6 separate regions of the Homo sapiens genome follow, and regions 2, 3, 4, 5 and 6 are each linked to region 1. The links are contacts of gene promoters, found by promoter capture Hi-C in human tissues and cell types (Jung and others, 2019). All regions are on one chromosome and are shown on one strand. Each heading gives the region's core, a stretch centred on a gene start or on the middle of the fragment in contact. The rest is flanking DNA. Distances are from core to core; before and after follow the strand shown. Region 1 holds the start of RPS16 (ribosomal protein S16). Region 2 holds the start of CLC (Charcot-Leyden crystal galectin). Region 3 holds the start of MRPS12 (mitochondrial ribosomal protein S12). Region 4 overlaps PAK4 (p21 (RAC1) activated kinase 4). Region 5 overlaps LEUTX (leucine twenty homeobox). Region 6 holds the start of FBXO27 (F-box protein 27).

What was found. The method cuts DNA at HindIII sites, captures the fragments that hold promoters and counts their contacts. A contact is called where the count stands out against the background at its distance.
Region 2: the fragment with the promoter of CLC here is called in contact with the fragment with the promoter of RPS16 in region 1 in 1 of the 25 tissues and cell types used here (neural progenitor cells).
Region 3: a contact is called between the fragment with the promoter of MRPS12 here and the fragment with the promoter of RPS16 in region 1, in 1 of the 25 tissues and cell types used here (small bowel).
Region 4: a fragment that was not itself captured here is called in contact with the fragment with the promoter of RPS16 in region 1 in 1 of the 25 tissues and cell types used here (lymphoblastoid cells).
Region 5: a fragment that was not itself captured here is called in contact with the fragment with the promoter of RPS16 in region 1 in 1 of the 25 tissues and cell types used here (lymphoblastoid cells).
Region 6: the fragment with the promoter of FBXO27 here is called in contact with the fragment with the promoter of RPS16 in region 1 in 1 of the 25 tissues and cell types used here (liver).

Annotation. Positions count from the first base shown.
Region 1 is chr19:39,434,096-39,437,300 of GRCh38, forward strand. It overlaps RPS16 (ribosomal protein S16), which reads right to left and starts at 1,854. Exons shown (of 5, transcript NM_001020.6): 1 at 1,753-1,854; 2 at 1,512-1,613. The coding sequence starts at 1,800. RefSeq lists an enhancer at 1,048-1,627 and a silencer at 2,008-2,107. The HindIII fragment of the contact is 40,426 bases long and covers 1-3,205 here.
Region 2 is chr19:39,736,332-39,739,483 of GRCh38, forward strand. It overlaps CLC (Charcot-Leyden crystal galectin), which reads right to left and starts at 1,698. Exons shown (of 4, transcript NM_001828.6): 1 at 1,607-1,698. The coding sequence starts at 1,621. The HindIII fragment of the contact is 10,513 bases long and covers 1-3,152 here.
Region 3 is chr19:38,929,215-38,932,244 of GRCh38, forward strand. MRPS12 (mitochondrial ribosomal protein S12) reads left to right here and starts at 1,730. Exons shown (of 3, transcript NM_033362.4): 1 at 1,730-1,784; 2 at 2,062-2,129. The coding sequence starts at 2,081. SARS2 (seryl-tRNA synthetase 2, mitochondrial) reads right to left here and starts at 1,549. Exons shown (of 16, transcript NM_017827.4): 1 at 1,256-1,549. The coding sequence starts at 1,522. RefSeq lists an enhancer at 1,174-1,633. The HindIII fragment of the contact is 13,053 bases long and covers 1-3,030 here.
Region 4 is chr19:39,141,245-39,144,635 of GRCh38, forward strand. All of the region lies in intron 1 of PAK4 (p21 (RAC1) activated kinase 4), which reads left to right. Among named protein-coding and RNA genes, the nearest start is that of PAK4-AS1, 6.4 kb to the left of the region's middle. RefSeq lists an enhancer at 2,846-3,391. The HindIII fragment of the contact is 5,182 bases long and covers 1-3,391 here.
Region 5 is chr19:39,783,685-39,786,862 of GRCh38, forward strand. It overlaps LEUTX (leucine twenty homeobox), which reads left to right. Exons shown (of 3, transcript NM_001382345.1): 2 at 843-994; 3 at 2,014-2,607. The coding sequence ends at 2,451. Among named protein-coding and RNA genes, the nearest start is that of LEUTX, 6.4 kb to the left of the region's middle. The HindIII fragment of the contact is 5,263 bases long and covers 1-3,178 here.
Region 6 is chr19:39,030,835-39,034,265 of GRCh38, forward strand. FBXO27 (F-box protein 27) reads right to left here and starts at 1,715. Exons shown (of 6, transcript NM_178820.5): 1 at 1,669-1,715; 2 at 1,030-1,419; 3 at 375-486; 4 at 195-290. The coding sequence starts at 1,393. RefSeq lists enhancers at 294-403, 810-1,602 and silencers at 512-694, 544-783, 934-1,013, 1,214-1,363, 1,424-1,493. The HindIII fragment of the contact is 13,585 bases long and covers 231-3,431 here.

The sequences.
Region 1 (3,205 bases), core at 604-3,103:
CTTCTGAAACTCCCAAGGCTGTTTCAAGTAGTCGAAAGCCATCCCTGGACTGTTCAGGTGCCTTTTCTATTTCCCACCTGAGCTCTCTGCCCTTTCTTTGAGCCTCACAGGTTTCCAGAATTACAGTACAACCTGTCCCTGGTCCCTAGACCCTTCCCAGCTCCAGGTCTTTTACCAGTGCCTCTGTCTGGATACTTCCTTTACCTGCTTTCAGCTCACAGGTCTCCTTCCCCAGTTCTGACCACTTTGGATCAGCTTCTGGTATTGGGCCCAGTCCTTCTCCCCAACTAGGCTGGCAGGTCCATGAAGGCAAGACCTTAAGTCATCTGGATCACTGCTATGTCCCCAAAACTCAACAGAGGGTACACATACAAATCCTTCAAATACAGTGACAGCCAATAACAGTAACATTCAACATCTGCTACACAAAGGAAATCTCAGAATTTTTATTAAATTCTAGGCCAGGCATGGTGATCACACCTGTAATCCCAGTCCAGGCAGAAGGATCACATGAGACCAAGGACCAGCCTGGGCAATAAAGTGAGACCCCACGTCTACAGAAAAATATTTCTCAAATGAGCCAGGCGTGGTGATGTGCCTGTAGTCTTGGCAACCGAAAGGCTGAGGTGGGAGGATCTCCAACTCAGGAGTTTAAGGCTGCAGTTCATTAGGATTGTGCTATTGCACTCCAGGGTAGGTGACAGCAAGATACTGTTTTTAAAAAAGAACCTTATAACTCAAAAAAAATTTTTTTAACTGACCCTGCAATGTAGATATTCTTTCTTTTAAAAGTAGTAGAGTTCAGAAGGGGCAGAAATCAGACTCTGGTTTCTTTCCATTCTGAGCCAAAGAAATTGAGAGTCCCAAAAAGGGAACAGAGGAACCCCTTTTACAAGCAAGCATTTAAACAGACCCAAATTCGGCCGCACACGGTGGCTGACGCCTGCAATCCCAGCACTTCGGGAGGCCGAGGCTGGTGGATCACCTGAGGTAATGAGTTCGAGACCACTCTGGCCAATATGGCGAAACCCCGTCTCTACTAAAAATACAAAAATTAGCCGGGCGTGGTGGTGCATGCCTGTAATCTCAGCTACTCAAGAGGCTGAGGCAGGAGAATCGCTTTAACCCGGGAGGCGAAGGTTGCAGTGATCCGAGATCGCGCCACTACACTCCAGCCTGGGCGACACAGCGAGACTCCCTCTCAAAACAAATAAATAAAATAAAAAATAGTCGGTGTCCCTTCACCCTTTGGGTCCCCCCGCCCCAGTGAGGTGAGCTTCCTAACATCCCAGTTCTCAAAGCAAACCCTTAATCTTCAACAACCCCATCTCAGCTTTTACATCTTCTGAACCCCAAGCCCAGCTCTATTGCCAAATACCCCACTGTTCTACACCCAACACAACTTCTAAACATCCCGTTGCTGATGCCAGCCCCCCCAGCTTTCAAGAGCTACAACATCTCTGTCTCCAAGAGTCCTCCATCCACTCAACGCCGGTGCCGGATCCCAGCACCTTGTACTGTAGCGTGCGCGGCTCAATCATCTCCAGGGGCCGCCCGTTCACCTTGATGAGACCATTGCCGCGTTTGCAGTGCGCCACAGCTGTCGCTGTCTTCTGTAAGATACAAGAGAAACAGGGGCCCCGTGAGCTCCGGCTCCAGCTCCCATGTTACCCCCTAGATTCCTGCCCACCGACCTCTCCCAGACCCTGGCCTTCTCCTTCCCCTCCCCTTCCCATCCGGCGTCTGGCTCACCTTGCGTCCGAAGACCTGCACAGACTGCAGCGGGCCCTTGGACGGCATGGCTCCGAGCGTGGACTAGACAACCTCACCGCGCGGCGCCGCAACCGGAAAAGGAAAGCTAGGGGCCACCCTGGCCGCTTTTCAGGGTCTGCGCAGGCGCCTTGAGCACTGCGTCGCGACGGGAGAGAGCTTTACGGCTTCTGTTGCGGCTAACGGGCGGGGCGTCTGGTCAGCGGCGGGAAGGCCCTTAGGCGCTCAGAGCGGGCGGGCCCTGTGAGGCGGAAGTGGCGGGCTCTGTGGGCGGAAGGGGCGGGGCCTGGGAGTGTCGTGTGCGGACTGAAGGGAAGGCTGCGGGAGTGTGCTTCGCGTCCTCTGTAGTCGACTACCGCAGCTCTTCTTTGCATTCTGGCTCTTTAATAATCTCCCTTCGCCCTTTCTTTAAATCAGTTCCCACCCTCCCAACACCTGTAATCTTTCTCCCCTCTGGACTCCCTCCTCCCCGAATCCCCCGCATCAGAATCTTCCTTTGGAATCTACTGCAAGAAATCTGGCTGGATTCTCAGATTAAGGACTTCCAGAATCCTATCCTCCCTAGAATCCCCCTCCTTGGGGATCCTCTCCCAGAATCCTTTTCCCCTCAGAGCCCCTTCCCCTCAGAATCTCCCTTTCACCAGAATGTCCTTCCTTTCAGTTTCCTCTTCCCAGAATGTTTCCCATCCTTCTCTCAGATGGCCAACCCCAAATGTCCCTCTTAAGAGTGCTCAACTTAGACCCCCCTTTTCCCTGAATCTCCCTCCATTCGGTCCTCGTCCCCTCAGTCACCCTTCCCAGAATCTTTCTCTTGTCAGGACCCAGTACCCCTGGAATCTCCCTCCTCCAGAATCTCCCTTTCCCGGCAAATCCCCCTTTCCCGGCAAATCCCCCTTTCCCAGAACACCCCGCCCCGCAAATCCACAAAAACTTTTCTCTCAGAGACCCGTCCCTCAAAATCTACCTTTCTCCTGAGTTTATTTCCCTTCCGAGACTCCTCTTCCCAGCAACTGCCTTCCCTGGAGTTTTCCCTCCGTTAGAATCCCCCTCTCCTAAGAGACCCTCCCCCAAGAATTAACCTCTTCCCCGTCCCCACCCTAGAATCTCTCTCTTTTTTTTGAGACGGAGTTTCGCTCGTTGCCCTGGCTAGAGTGCAGTGGTGCGATCTCGTCTCACTGCAACCTCCGCCTCCCGGGTTCAAGAGATTCTCCTGCCTTAGGCTCCCGAGTAGCTGGAATTACAGGCGTCTACCACCACGCCCTGGTCGTTTTTTGTATTTTTAGTAGAAATGGGGTTTCACCACGTTGGCCAGGCTGGTCTCGAACTCCTGACCTCAGGTGATGTGATCCGCCTCAGCCTCCCAGAGTCCTGGGATTACAGGCGTGAGCCACCACGCCCGGCCGAATCTCTCTGTTTTTTGTTTTTTTTTTTTCTT
Region 2 (3,152 bases), core at 448-2,947, 300 kb after region 1:
CACATTGCTGAGAGCACAACCGCAGTACTTGCACAAATGAAGATTGTGGGTCAGGGAAGTTATTGGCTAGAATCTATAAATGGATGGTATTTTTCTTTTTTGAAACAGGGTCACACTGTCACCTAGGCTGGAATGCAGTGGCACCATCAAAACTCACTGCAGGCTGGGCGTGGTGGCTCACGCCTGTAATCTCAGCACTTTGGGAGGCCAAGGTGGGTGCATCACTTGAGGTCAGGAGTTCGAGACCAGCCTGGCCAACATGGAGAAACCCCATCTCTACTGAAAATACAAAAATTAGCCAGGAGTGGTGGCACAAGCCTGTAATCCCAGCTACTCGGGAAGCTGAGGTATGAGAATCGCTTGAACCCGGGAGGTGGAGGTTGCAGTGAGCCGAGATTGCACCACTGCACTCCAGCCTGGGAAACAGAGCGAGACTCTGTCTCAAAAAAAAAAAAAAAAAATTACTGCAGGTTTGAAGGCCTGGGCTTCAGTGAACCTCTTGCATATGCCCCCCAGCAGCTGGAACTACGGTATGCAACACCACATTCAATAAATTTTTAAATTTTTGGAAAGATGAAATCTTGCTATGTCTCCCAGGCTGGTCTACCAGTCCTGGCCTGACATGGGCCTTTCAATTCGGCCACCCAAAGTGCTGAGACTACAGGCCTCAGCAAACATCTTGATGAATATCCACTGTAAGCTCTGCCTTGTACCTTCCTGGTTTTGGGTGATTCAGTCTCTTAAATCAAGTCCCTCAATGTCCTTCTCTAGCATCCTGGCACTCAATGGGAAGGCCAGGCTAGGGTAGGAGACAGGGAGAGACCTGAGGCTGGAGGCAGGAGCCAGTGGTCACTGTGTGCAGATTCCACCTAAGGAACCATCAGCCCCATCGTCTGTTTCTCACCCCCATTCTGCTTGGGAAAAGGCACCTGAGAATTCATGCATTCTGCTCTCATAAATGCTCAGAGATAAGTCCTCGGTAACTCAAGGGCCCCAAGATCCCACAAGTTCTGTCACCGGGGATCCACAGTGATGCACAAGGGAAGTTAGACAGAGTACTGCTATGTGGGGAGGAACCTTCACATGCACAGAAGGCCACATGCATGTTCCCAGTTCAACACCCAGTCACATTCCAGCACACACACTCACAGTCACACAGAGCCGTGCCACTCACTGAGTCACACACACCTGCTCACTGTGCATATAAAGATGCTCATGCACTGGTCCGGCTGTGCTCACACACACACTCACATCACAGTCATGAAGACAAAACACAGTCACCTGATTACAATCACTTACACACCCACCCATATCCTGGAGGGCCATACACATCCCGTCTAAAGTCACATCATTTTTAGCAGAGTTTACTCTCATCAGATACCATCACATGCTCACAGAGGGTCACAATGTTCCAGCATCCACACCCCCTACCCCCCTACCCCAGGAGCATCTCAGATACCATAGCCCTAGGGTCTCTCTTCCACACACCCACAACTCTCAGTAAAGCATTCACAGTAGAAATTTTCATATTTTCATCCCATAAAATCTCCCTCTTCCCTTTTCTGTGTGACCTGAGATTATTGAAGGCTGTGCCTTTTTAACTCACGGGTAGCAGGGACATTGTTGTCTCCTTCTGGGTGGCTCTTCTGAATTGTGTCCAGACTTCTGTGTGAATCTCTGAGCTGCAGAATTTAAATGGCCCCTATCAGCCCTGCCTCTGGCTTTATTCCTGATTCCAAGCCCCTCCCAGGAAGGTTTCCTCACACAGTGAGAAGGGGTGGGGTGTCAGAAACAGACTCAGTCACAACCACACCTGTTTGGAGGCCTGTGCCTGTGATGCAGCAGAAACGACAGTGAGGGAGGTACTGGAGGAGGAAGGGGTCACCAGGGAAATGCACAGATAAAGACGATGGAGTGAGGATGAGTGGTGTGAGTTCCAGCCTCCATGCTTCTCATGAAGCCTTTTCTCCACTGTGCAGAATCTACCAGGAAGGTGTGCGTTCTCCTAACCTGTGCAATGGTAAAAAGCTGGAGATCCTGGGGGCAAGGCACTTGGCTTTGAAAGAAAATCCTCCTCCTCCTTCTCCAGTGGTTCTGGGAGAGCATAGATCTTGATCATTCGCAGGACCTGGGGACAGAAGTAGAGAAAACACTTGTGTCTTCTTTACCCACCCTCAGATCCCTTGGCTCTGCCAGGTGAGAGCCACTCCCACTCTGTCTCTCAGACACCTGGGCTTTAGGTACGCCCTCTTATTTCCCTATTTCTTTTCATGTGAATCAAAATCTGAGGCTGTCGTTCTCCTGCAGATTCTTGGAGAAAGGTGAGATTTCTCACTCATAAGTGGGAGCTAAGCGATGAGGATGCATTAGCATTAATATTAGTTGTGCTTGACCCGACAATAAATTCCACTTTCCCTGATCTAAAACCTTGACAATTCATTTCCAAGCATGCACTCCAAGATTCTGCTCATATAAATCAGCACAATCACACAGTTCTTTTGGTATATAACGTATTTCCTTAAGATTAATTTGTAATGTCATCCCACTGCATTCCTTGGGTTTTGACTCTGGGTATGGACATGGAAGCAATGAAAAGGGTCAGAGGCCACAATTAAGGAGCTTTGGAAACCCCGTTCTAGGCAACCACCCTCACACCCTGCCCAGAACTGTAGCTTGTAAGAAATTACCACAGAAGGGAAAGAGGAACTGCTTTTCCTTGCAACAGATATGCAATAGAATTTTGAGTAATATCCCAGCTATTCATCTGAACTGGGGAAGAAATATCAGTTCAGGGCGTCTGGCCACCTAGTAAGCTGTGGATAAAGATGTTGATGTTATTTACTTCTCAGGCATTCCAGCAATCCTTTCAGTGATGCAGAGAGATTGATCTTCTTTAACTTCCATATCCTCTGCACAATAGCCCATACTTCTGCTGGTTGCAACTATTTCTTCAGAAATCCATTATGCCCTACGACTTGCTTTCAGTCTTTCTTTTCAACTACATCTTTCCAAGCACACACTGTTCCCCCGAAAAACTTTAGGTTTTGTGTATGAAATTATATAATATCTGGGATTTGCTCTAAAATAATCTGGGGATGACAGTTCTCTCCTTTTGCAAACATTTGAAATTTTTTACAGTACAGTTTTTAATT
Region 3 (3,030 bases), core at 480-2,979, 510 kb before region 1:
TTACTAGACTGTGAACTCAGATCATGAGAGGGCACAGCAGGGTACTTAAGATTGTGGAGTCTGGGTGTGGTGGCTCATGCCTGTAATCTCAGCATTTTGGGAGGCCAGGGTGGGAGGATCACTTGGGCGCAGGAGTTCAAGACCAGCCTGGGCAACATAGTATGTCCCTGTCTCAACAAAAAATACAAAAGTTTAGCCGGGCGTGGTGGTGTCTGCCTGTAGTCCCAGCTACACGGGAGGCTGAGTGGGAGGATTATTTGAGCTCAGGAATTCAAGGTTCCAGTGAGCTATAATTGTACCACTGTACTCCATCCTGCCATCCTGGGCGACAGAACAACACCCTATCTCAAAAAAAAAAAAAAAAAAAGTGGATTCTAGGCCAGAAAGCACAGGTTAAAATTCCCACTCTGCCACTTCCCAGTTGCATGACCTAGCGCAAGTGAATTAGCTTCTCGAAGCCTTAGTTTCCCCTCTGATAAAATGGGAGAAATAATGGCACCTACTTCATAGAGTTGCTGTGAAAATTAAACGAGGTTAAAGTGAATAAAGCACTTCAAACAGGCTGGGAGGGGAGTCCAAGAGAGGAATGGGAAGACGTGGGGACCCCACTATCGTTAGCACCTCAACACAGAGATATTGTGAACCCGGTCCTAATTCCCTTTTATAAGTGCTAGCAATTTTATTATTATTCACCGCATATTTGCAACATCTAGAACACCGGAATATAGCAGTTGCACCTTAAGTATCAGTTTAATAGAACCATTCATTAATGGATTCATTCATTCATTCATTAACTCTATTTAACTGCCTGCTATGTGTGGCGGAGGTGCACAACTCTCCCTACCTCTCTCTCTAAACGCAAGAGCTCCACCACACCCCAGCCCTGACCCCGTCCGATTCACACTTGGCTCCCCATTTTCCTTTGTGGTCTTAGGGAAAGGCTGGCATGAGGTTGCAGCACGGAGGGCAATGTCACATAGCAAGTTCCTAAAGGACAGGAGGTACCCAGCGAGCAGTATGAAACAAGCGCATAATGGGTGTCCAGGACACAGTAGGCATTCTTGGCACATAGTAGGGCCTCAGCACTCACTGGACAACTGGCACATAAGTGGGTGCCATGCACAAGACGTTGGCTAACTTGGGAAATAACTAAAATTCCTACTACAGGTTCGCCCCCTGCCGGAGGGCATCTTGCAAACCCAATTCTTCCGTAAAGCAAACGTCTGCGCCCCCCGGCCGGCGCAGGCGCACTCACGATCGCGGGCAGGTCCGCCGAGCGCAGCTCCCCCTTGCGGAGCTCCAGGGCGTGTGCGGCCTCTTCTGGGCATGCGCAGAACCGCTCTATGTCCAGCTGAGGGAGTGCGCTGTAGCCCTCGCGCGCATACTCGTACAGGAGGTTCCGGTTTCGTTTCTCTGTAGTGAAACTTCTCCTTGGACTATCGTTGGAGATGCAGCCTCCCCGGGGCCGGAACCCCCGACGAGTCAGCAAAGGCCACAAGCGCCGCGCCATGGACGCAGCCATCTTGGACCGGGAACAAGGCGGCACTTCGTCCCGCCCACTCCGCGTTTAGACCAATTGCAAGGCAGCGAACCTGACCGTGACGAGCCAATCAGATCCTGAGGAAAGTTGACCGCGATAGAGTCCTTCGTCGCCCAATCGTCGTCTGTGTCCCGCCTCTTCAGTGACGCGAGGCAGAACCAGCCAATCCCTGCACGGATAGCGCCCGGAAGAGGCTAGAAGCTGGATTCAGCGTGTCCGCGACCTCACCTTTAGGTCCTGTGAGGTCGGTGGAATCCTGGGGTCCTCCAAATCTACCAGGCCATCTCCCCAGTTTCCCAGTTCTTCCTGCGTGCGGGCGAGAGTGGTTGGGCCCTCGGGAACCCACTCAGAGCGAGGCTAAATTTACGGAGGGACTTTCTGTTAGCAGCATGAGGGCCTGTGGTTAGACCTATAGAGGTATTTCCTTTGATTTAAGCCAGAAAGTCCTGAGAGCGGATCGGGGAGCATTTGCGGATCGGTCACTTTTTCCTCCTTTCTGAGTCTCTTATCCCCTACCACAGGGACGGCCCAGGTGGCAGGATGTCCTGGTCTGGCCTTCTCCATGGCCTCAACACGTCCCTAACTTGTGGTAAGTGGGGGACTTGGGCTTCAGGGACGAGGCTAGAGGGGGAGGGTTATTCGCTCTTGGACTTGTGTGCCTCCGTCGGAGCCCCGAGGGAAACGGGGGTGGAAAAACACGGTGGGGTTTTGGCAGAGCTAGGGCTGCTAGAGCAAGAGGTGGGAAGCAGCTGCATGGAGGGCTACTGCGTGTCAAGCGGCGTTTGGGTCAGTTTTATTATTTATTTATTTAAGATCTCCCTCTGTCGCCCAGGCTGAAGTGCAGCGGTGTGATCACAGCTCACTGCAGTCTCGACCTCCTGGGCTCAAGTGATCCTCCCGCCTCAGCCTCCCAAGTAGCTGGGACCACAGGCCTGCAGAACCACAACCAGCTAACTTTTTGATTCTTTGTAGAGAGGGAGGTCTCCCTGTGTCGCCCAGTCTGGCCTTAACTCCTGAGCTCAAGTGACCCTCCACAGCCTCCAAAAGTGCTAGGATTACATGCATGAGCCACTGAGCCTACTATTATTTTAAACAGCATTAAAAATAATGCTTCCTGGCCAGCCGTGGTGGCTCACGCCTGTAATCCCAGCACTTTGAGAGGCCGAGGTCAGGAGTTCGAGACCAGCCTGACCAACATGGTGAAACCCCGTCTCTACTTAAAAATACGAAGATTAGCCGAGCGTGGTGGTGGGTGCCTGTAGTCCCAGCTGCTCAGGAGGCTGAGACAGGAGAATTGCTTGAACCCAGGAGGCAGAGGTTGCAGTGGGCCAAGATTGAGGTACTGCACTCCAGCCTGGGCGACAGAGTGAGACTTTGTCTCAAAAAAAAAAAAGAAAAAAAAAAAAAAGGTAATGCTTCCTTGAAGAATAAAGAGTTACTTTTGTCTGTAGATAACATTAGATGTGAACAAATGCATCTTTGTAAAGTGC
Region 4 (3,391 bases), core at 695-3,194, 290 kb before region 1:
AGCCAGAAATATTCCACACTTTTCCAGAACAAGCCTGCCTCAGTCTCCTCATGCTTCCCCAGTTGTCTTATAATCCTTTTTTTTTTTTTGAGACAGAGTCTCACTCTGTCACCCAGGCTGGAGTGCAGTGGTGCGATCTTGGCTCACTGCAACCTCCGCCTCCTGGGTTCAAGTGATTCTCCTGCCTCAGCCTCCCGAGTAGCTGGGACTACAGGCGTGTGCCATGATGCCCGGCTAATTTTTGTATTTTTAGTAGAGATGGAGTCTCACCATATTGATCAGGCTGGTCTTGAAGTCCTGACCTCAAGTGATATAACCATCTCAGCCTCCCAAAGTGCTGGAATTATAGGCGTGAGCCACCGTACCCTGCCATAATCCTTTTTCATTTGTTTTTTGTTGTTGTTGTTTGAGACAGAGTCTCACTCTGTCTCCCAGGCTGGAGTGCGGTGGCACGATCTCGGCTCACTGCAACCTCCGCCTCCCAGGTTCAAGCACTTCTCCCTGCCTCAGCCTCCCGAGTAGCTGGGATTACAGGCGCCCGCCACCACGCCTGGCTAAGTTTTGTATTTTTTAGTAGAGACAGAGTTTCCTAGGCTGGTCTCGAACTCCTGACCTCAAGTGATCCACCCGCCTCGGCCTCCCAAAATGTTGGGATTATAGGCGTGAGCCACGGCGCCCGGCCCATTTGTTTGATTTGGGTCTGGACAAGGTCTACACTTTGCATCCGGTTGATAGGCCTCTTTTTTTTGTTTTGTTTTGTTCCCTTTGTTACCCAGGCTGAAGTGCAGTGGAGCGATCAGAGCTCACGTGCAGCCTTGACCTCCCCTGCTCAAGCAATCCTCCCGCCTCAGTCTCCTGAATAGCTGGGACCACAGGTGTGCGCCGTCATGCTCAGATACTGGCATCAGCTCTTTGGCGTGCATGTTGTCGTAGTTTTTCTACAGGCGACCTAGGCCATTTGTCCTGGAGTTTTGCAGTCTGGGGCCAGCTGATACATCCTTGTGGTGTCATTGCACGTGTTCTCTGTCTCTGTGCTTCCTGTAAGTTAGGACTTAGGTCTAGAAGCTCGATCTGATGCAGGTTCAGTTTCTTCTGGCAAGCACGCTTTCTTAGGTGGTTGCTTGGATGAGCATCAGAATTACTTACATGTCTGTATGACTGTCAAGTTCAGTTTTCAAGTAAAAATTAAGTTTTTTTTAAAAAAGCGAGTGGGTTGAGAAGAACACTCTGAAGTCACTCCTAGTAAGGCTGGTACCCAGATCCAGCAGAAGTAGGGTGGGAGGGACCAAAGGACTGAGGCTCGGGTCCCCCCTTCCCCACCCCCCGGGGCCTGGGAGCAATAGGCTGGGTGCCCCGGCTTCAAGTAAACCAGTGGCATTAACATGTGGGCCTCTGGTTCCTGCTTTGCTAGGGCCACAGGCTTCCAGCTGAGAGCTGCTGCCACCCACCCTGGCAACCCCTTCCGCATCGCGTGGTGGTGACACCTTCAGAACAGAGTGGTCTCCCACCCCAGCTCTACCCTTGGCTGCCTGTGTCACCCTGGGTGGCTTTCCCAGCCTCTCTACCTGCTTCCTTCTTGACAGCCTGATGGTGGCCATACGTCCCTTGGGCTGTGGTGACTGGGCCTCTGGGAGCTGCCCTTCCACTTCTGCATTTTAACATAAACCTCCTTGACCTCAGCTGCTCCATTCTCTGCTCCCTTCCAGCCACTCGGATTCCAGTCCTGGGGGCCTCCTCACTGACCATGCCCTCCACCCTCAGTGCTGTTCCCTGGTACTCTGCATGGCTTCCTCACCTGTATCCCGTCTTTGCTCAGACGCCACCCCTTTAGAGACCTCCCTGACTGTGCCCTCTGAAAGAGCACCTTGTCACTCTCTGTCCCTTCTCCCACTTGTTTACTTGTATATTGTGTTCCCACTAGAATGTCAACTCCAGGAGAGCAGAGACTCTTGTCTTATTCACTGCTGTGTCCCTGGTGCCTAGAACAGTGCCTGGCACCTGCTAAGTGCATATTAAGGAGTCGTTGCTCACTGGGTAGAAGCATTAAAAAAAAAAAAAAAAAAAGGCTGGGTGTGGTGGCTCACGCCTGTAATCCCAGCACTTTGGGAGGCAAAGGTGGGTGGATCACCTGAGGTCAGGAGTTCGAGACGAGCCTGGCCAACACAGTGAAACCCCGTCTCTACTAAAAATACAAAAAAATTAGCTTGGCGAGGTGGCAGGTGCCTGTAATCCCAGCTACTTGGGAGGCTGAGGCAGGAGAATCGCTGGAACCCAGGAGGCGGAGGTTGCAGTGAGCCAAGATCACACCAATGCACTCCAGCCTGGGTGACAGAGCAAGACTCTGTCTCAAAAAAAAAAAAAAAAAAAAAAAAAAAAAAAGAATTGTTGAGTGCATGAATGAATAAAAGAAAGAAAATGACTGGGCACAGTGGCTCACATCCCAGCACTCTGGGAGGCTGAGGTGGGCAGATCACTTGAGCCCAGGAGTTTGAGACCAGCCTGGGCTATAGTGAGACCTCTGCTCTACAAAACATTTTTAAAATTATTGTTTTAAAATAATTTAAAAATTATTTAAAATGTAAAAGGGCGTGGTGGCATGTGCCTGTGGTCCTAGCTACTCAGGAGGCTGAGGTGGGAGGATTGCTTGAGCCCAGGAGTTGGAGGCTGCAGTGAGCTATGATGGGGTCCTAGCTACTCAGGAGGCTGAGGTGGGAGGATTGCTTGAGCCCAGGAGTTGGAGGCTGCAGTGAGCTCTGATTGCACCACTACACTCCAGCCTGGGTGACAGAGCAAAACCTATGATGATAGATAGATAGATAGATAAGATAGAGCGAGCAAGACCCTATCTCAGGTAGATAGATAGATAGATAGATAGACAGACAGACAGACAGACAGACAGATAGATAGATAGATAGATTAGATTAGATAGATAGATAGATAGATAGATAGATATGGTTAAGTGAGTGGACTTTGGTCCTGGTCAGACTTGCCACGGAATCCCAGTTCTGATACACTCGCCGTGTGACTGAGGGCTGACATGTCTTCTCTCTGAGCTTCACTCTCCTGCTTCACACACCGTGTGAACGGCACCCTCCTCGCTGCCTTCTTTTGCACCAGGATGGAGCCTGCACGTAACACTTTGTAGTGGTCTCACTGCTGTCCTGTCTCCAGCACGGGGCACCGATGAGCCAGCCAGAAGCCGTCCCTGCCGGGGGGATGCTTGACCCAAATCTTCAGTAATAACTCCTTCCACTCTGGGTGACCAGCTGTGGTGCCCCAGGGCAGGGACTTGTTGATCTGGGTTTGTTCTGGAGGCCAGAAGGGTTTCCTGGGGACTGGGATTGGAGCAGGATTGAGAGTGCCTGGTATGTGGAGAGACCTGGCTGTTGTG
Region 5 (3,178 bases), core at 43-2,542, 350 kb after region 1:
TTATGGCCATTCTTGTGGTTTCGATTTGCATTTCCCTAATCATTTGTGATGTTGAGCATTTTTTCATGTTTGTTGGCCATTTGTATATCTTTTGAGAATTATCTATTCATGTCATTCATGTCCTTAGCCCACTTTTTGATGGAATTGTTTGGTTTTTTTCTTGCTAATTTGTTTGAGTTCGTTGCAGATTCTGGATATTAGTCATTTGTCAAATGTATAGATTGTGAAGATTTTCTTCTAGACTGTGGGTTGTCTAGAACTCTGCTGTTCCTTTTGCCATGCAAAATCTCTTTAGTTTAATAAAGTCCTAGCTATTTATCTTTGTTTTTATTGCATTTGCTTTTGGGTTCTTGGTCATTGTGTTGCTGTCTATCTCATTTCTTAGGTCTAGTGGATAAAAGGGCGTCCATTGTCTCCTAAAGTTTTTATTATTTTTTATTTATGCTCTCTATTTCACTGAAGATTTCTCCCCTCATTTCTTGTATCTTTTTTTTTAATTTCCTTAAATTGGGCTTCACTTTTCTCTGGTGCCTCCTTGATTAGCTTAATAACTGACCTTCAGAATTCTTTTTCAGGTATATCACGGATTTCTTCTTGGTTTGGATCCATTGCTGATGAACTAATGTGATTTTTTGGGGATGTTAAAGAACCTTGTGTTGTCATATTACCAGATTTGGTTTTCTGGTTCCTTCTCATTTGTGTAGGCTCTGTCAGAGGGACGGTCTAGGGCTCAAGGCTGTTGTTCAGATTCTTTTGTCCCACAGGTGTTCCCTTGATGTAGTACTCTCCTCATTTCCTTCCGAATTTTTTTAATGAAAGCCTTTTATCTGTTCCCTCTGCAGAAGGGCCAAGGCGTTATCGTCGGCCACGCACAAGATTTCTCTCCAAACAACTCACAGCATTGAGAGAATTGCTTGAAAAGACCATGCACCCAAGTTTGGCTACAATGGGGAAACTGGCTTCAAAGCTACAACTTGATCTATCCGTAGTAAAGGTCTGTTCCCAAGTGTGTCTGTAGGTAGCACGCCTAACCCAGAGCTTCACACACACTTTTGATCATTGTTATAACAGTTCCTATTTATTGGCAATTGCTATGTGTAAGGACAGATGTTAAGCACTTTATATTTTTATTGTCATGAGCACCCACTTTATTGAGGAACACTAAAGCTCACATAGAAGAGCTGTCTTCCAAGCATTATAAACACAAGAGTTGGAATTTGAACCCAGACCTTTCCAACTCCAGACCCACCATGCTACACAGGACTCTTTGAGGCTGGATCTCAGATACTCCCATTTGGGTCTGTTCTTGTGTATTCAGGATGGGTTCTGCTTAATCAGGACCATCACAGTCATCCAGATGCCTGTCACTAAGTTCCCACAAAGTATTCATGGGAGAACACCTGGATGAACCCTAAAGATGACCCAAGCTAAACTCTCACCCCATACTCTGACTTTAAAATACTTTCTCTGGGCACCAGGAATGGTGGCTCACACTTGTAATCCCAGCACTTTGGGAGGTGGAGGCAGGAGGATCGCTTAAGCCCAGTTTAAGACCAGCCTGGGCAACATAGCAAGACCATGTCTTTACAAACAAAAATTAAAAATTAACCAGACATGGAGGCACATGGCTGTAGTCCCAGCTACTTGGGAGACTGAGATAGGAGGATTGCTTAAGCCCAGGAGTTCAAGGCTGCAGCGAGCTATGATTGCAGCACTGCACTCCAGGCTGGGTGACAGAGTGGTAGCTTGTCTCAAAAAAAAAAAATACACCACTAATAAAAACACCCTTCTATTTAATACATCACAATCTAGGTCATATTCCACCCATTGCTAGTACAATCCTACACCCACTTTTCCCTTGAAACCCAGGACAGCAGAGAGTAGAAAGGGCTTCCCTTGTTCCAATAAATGTGAGACTCTCTCTCACACCAAAAAACCGAATTCCTGAGGAACATGAGGATGCCCCTTTATACTCAACATCCATTATTAACCTCCCCCCTCCTCCCTCCTTAGATCTGGTTCAAGAACCAGCGTGCCAAATGGAAGAGGCAGCAGCGGCAGCAAATGCAGACACGGCCATCACTAGGGCCAGCAAACCAGACAACTTCAGTGAAGAAGGAGGAGACTCCCTCAGCCATAACTACTGCAAACATTCGTCCAGTAAGTCCTGGAATCTCTGATGCAAATGACCATGATCTACGTGAGCCTTCTGGTATCAAGAATCCTGGAGGAGCCAGCGCCTCTGCGAGGGTTTCATCCTGGGATTCTCAGTCATATGACATTGAACAGATATGTCTGGGGGCTTCAAATCCTCCTTGGGCCTCCACTCTCTTTGAAATAGATGAATTTGTAAAGATCTATGACTTGCCAGGGGAAGATGACACCAGCAGCCTAAATCAATATCTTTTTCCAGTATGCCTTGAGTATGACCAGCTCCAATCTTCAGTGTAACTTCTTACACATCACTTCTAGGGGAGGTCTGGATCTGACCCACTGAGACATATTTCCACACATCTTTAATGGTTTGACCCCAGTCTAAGTAGATCAGGGGCTGGGAATTTATCTTTTTCTGTAGAAAAAACAATAAAGGAACTCCCCTACCTTTCATCATTGCCTGCATTTTCTGAACTCCATTTGAGTGCCTCCTCACCCAAATTTCAGCATTAAAGATTGTATTCAGAGAAGTGACGCCAGGAACACAGTGACATAGGAGGTTCCTGATTGATGGACTGAATAAACGTCTGTGCCTACATCAGTTCTCTCTGGAAGAAAGTCAGAAGTGAGTGGAGAGACTCCTACACACCAGGCAACTAAGAAAATGTCTTAGCAGGCCAGTCGCGGTGGCTCACGCCTGTAATTCCAGCACTTTGGGAGGCCAAGGTGGGTGGATCACGAGGTCAGGAGATCAAGACCATCCCGGCTAACATGGTGAAACGCTGTCTCTACTAAAAATACAAAAAATTAGCTGGGTGTGGTGGTGGGCACCTGTAGTCCCAGCTGCTTGGGAGGCTGAGGCAAGAGAATTGCTTGAACCCGGGAGGCGGAGGTTGCGTGAGCCAAGATTGCACCACTGCACTCCAGCCTGGGCGACAGAGTAAGACTCCATCTCAAAAAAAAAAAAAAAGAAAAGGAAGAAAAGACAAGAAAAAAAATGTCTTATCAAACAGGCAGCAAAAGC
Region 6 (3,431 bases), core at 465-2,964, 400 kb before region 1:
TGACCTCAAGTGATCTGCCTGCCTCGACCCCCCAAAGTGCTGGGATTATAGGTGTGAGCCACCATGGCTGGCCTGAACTTCAGATTTTTTATCTGTAAGGAGGGGTTAGGAGGCCTAAATTAAGTCACCCATAAAAAGGCCATGTCACATGCAGTCAGTGCTTAGCAAGGGGCTATTTTAATCGTCACACTCACCAGTCAGAGACACAAATCTCAATCCTGCCACTATCCAGCAGTTCTGGCCACAGACCCTCCTCCTCTAGGTCCAAGACCTGCTTCTTGCAACACCAGCTGGGAATGCAGGAGACAGGGTAATGAGAACAGGCAGGCCTTTCTCAACAAGGGGCCGGACCTTTGGATAGCAGGGGCATTCACCTGAATGAAGTCACGAAGCACGTCTGAGAAGGGGCCCCAGGCACGGTTGTCCTGTTTTCCTCCACCACCCAGCCGTCCCCACCGTGTTGCACCATCCACTTTCGGAGGCCTTCTGTGAAATAAAAAAGGCTTGTGCCCAAGTTCCAGTCGCCCGCCTGTTGGTTCCTAGTGAGACCCCGCCCCTAGCCCCTCCCACGTGCTCACAGTGCAGCTCACTCACCTGACCCTTCCCACCGAGGCCCCGCCCCCTTCCCCTCCCACCAGCTCAGGGCAAAGCCCCGCTCCTCTGGCCCTTCTCACTGATTTGCAGCAAAGCCCTGCCCCTCCAACCCCTCTCTCGGGCTCCCAGAACTGCCCCACTCCCACCCCTCCCACAGGCAAACGGTGAAGCCCTGCCCAGTCAGCCCTGCACCCTGCGTGCCAATGCTGCCTCGTCCCTCCGACACCTCCCACCGGCTCCCAATGCTGCCCCGCCCCTCCGGCACCTCACACCGGCTCCCAATGCTGCCCCGCCTCTCCGACTCCTCCCACCGGTCCCACTGCGGCCCTGCCCCTGCGGCCCCTAGTACCGGTCCCAGTGCGGCCCCGCCCCTCCGGCCCCGCTACCGCTCCCACTGTGGCCCAGCATCCTGGACTTCCTCTTCCGAGATCCCACCTTGGCCGCAGGGGTTGCGAATAAGGTTGCGTCCGATGGGTCTGCGCGCGCAGAAGCGGCCCAGGGGGCAAGGCCTGGCGTTACGGGCGGGAGACTGGCAGCTGCGGGCGAGGTGCAGCAGCGCGCGGCCGGTGGCGCCGTGGTCGCGGGCCAGGATCAGCAGCCACAGGGCCTGGCCGTCCACCAGGGCTCGCCAGCCCCGGCACACTTGGCGGCAGCGCCCGAGCAGCGTGCGCGGGGGGACGTGGCTCAGCACCACCAGAAGCAGCTCTGGGGGTAGTTGGCTCAGGTCCAGCGCCTCTTCGGGTTCCGGCTCCGGCGCGGGGACCCGGGCGGCCCGGCCCCTGGAGACCGAGGCGCCCATGGTCCCCCCGCCAGGCCCGGCTGTGGCTGCGGGAGAGGAAGGGTCAAGGCGTCAGGGACCAGCAGCCTCCGCGGCGCGCAGCCTCTGCCTGCCCTGATTCTGCCAGCCGCACCCCCGTCTTCACCATCCCTGGGCCCCGTCCCCAAGTCCCCATCCCCCAGCCCGTCCTTGATAGCCCCGATATCCCGGAGACCCCGCGGTCTGTGTGTATGCCCCGAATTGCATGCAATCAGCCCCCCTCGGCGGCCGCACCGACACCGCACCCCAAGTCCTACCCCGGGGCCTGGCGGCGCTCCTCGCCGGGATGCCCTAGCTGTGCCGCAAGCTCCCCACGCCCCTCTGCGTCCTTTTTACTCGCCGGCCCCTCCCCTCTTACTAGCCAGCTTCACCCACCCCTGCATCCTCTTTCTTACTCGCCAGCCCCTCCCGCCTGCTCCCTCCCGCTCTCCAAACCCAACCTGCTTCCCGCGACGGGGCCAGGTGCAGCCAGGAGCCAAGGCCTGCTGCTCACAGCCGTCCCCTCCAGCCGGCCCCTTGAAGTGTCCCTAATTCGTTAGTAGCAATGAGACGTCTGGCTCTGAGCAACCATTGTTATTTTGGTCAGGCTTCTGAGTGGGAGGCCTCGTATCCGTTAACGTGTTAAAAAATTTCCATCACCTTTAAGGTCGGGCGTGGTTATCTTCATTTCACAGGAGAAAACAGGCTCCGGCTGCTAAAAATTAATGCAACCAATAGTAACACCAGCCAACTTTTATGGACGGTTTTACTGCCAGCCAGGGTGGCAACCCCATGAAGTAGGTGCTGTTATGCCCTTTACTTCACAGGTGAAAAAACTGAGACCAGCAGAGGCCAAGTGGCTTGTCTATGATCACCAGCTAGTAGGGATTTGAATCCAGCCAGCCTAGCTCCGGAATTCCTCATTTTAACCTCTAGATCAGCTCTGTCCAATAAAAATACAATTGTGGCTGGGTGCGGTGACTCATGCCCGTAATCCCAGCACTTTGGGAGGCCAAGGCAGGCGGATCGCTTGAGGTCAGAAGTTCGAGACCAGCCTGGCCAACATGGTGAAACCCCGTCTCTACTAAAAATACAAAAATTAGCTGGGCGTGGTAGCACGCGCCTGTAATCCCAGCTAATTTGGAGGCTTAGGCAGGAGAATTGCTTGAATCCGGGAGGGGGAGGTTGCAGTGAGCAGAGATTGCACCACTGCACTCCAGCCTGTGCAAAAGAGTGAGTGAGACTCCGTCTCAAAAAACAAACAGAAAAAAAAAATTGTGAAAGTTGATCATGTGAATTGGATCCTTCTTGTCATATCCAACTAAAACAAAGTTGAGAGGCCGGGGGGAAAACACTTAGGGCAGATACCATTGCTCCAAGAAAGTGATTCTCTGCAAGCCTGGCTGTTAAAACTGCCTGTTGTAACCTGGAAGCAGTCTAACTGGTACTGAAAAAACCTGCCGTGACTCTAAGACTAGTTTTTCCCTCTGCTGTCACTTACCAGTCAGAACTTGCCAGCTCCCCAGAACGTTGCTAGTGTCAATGAACTTTCTTGCAAAACAATACCTAACATTTCTGTTTCTTATAAAAACCTCTAACCTCTTTGTTCTTTGAAAGTTCTGAAGACCGCCTGGTCTGTGTGGATGCCTCGAATGTCAATTCTTGCTTCCCAAATAAAACATTTTATTATTTTTTTGAGACAGAGTCTCGCTCTGTCGCCCAGGCTGGAGGGCAGTGATGCAATCTCGTCTCACTGCAACCTCCGCCTCATGGGTTCAAGCGATTCTCCTGCCTCAGCCTCCCGAGTAGCTGGGATTACAGGCGCATGCCACCATGCCCAGCTAATTTTTGTATTTTTAGTAGAGACGGGGTTTCACCATGTTGGCCAGGATGGTCTCAAACTCCCGACCTCAGGTGATCTGCCCGCCTCAGCCTCCCAAAGTGCTGGGATCGCAGGCATGAGCCACCGCAACAAAACATTTTAAATCGAGAGATTTGTCTCTATATCTCTATATTTTATTTGGCTTCGACATAACGTGAG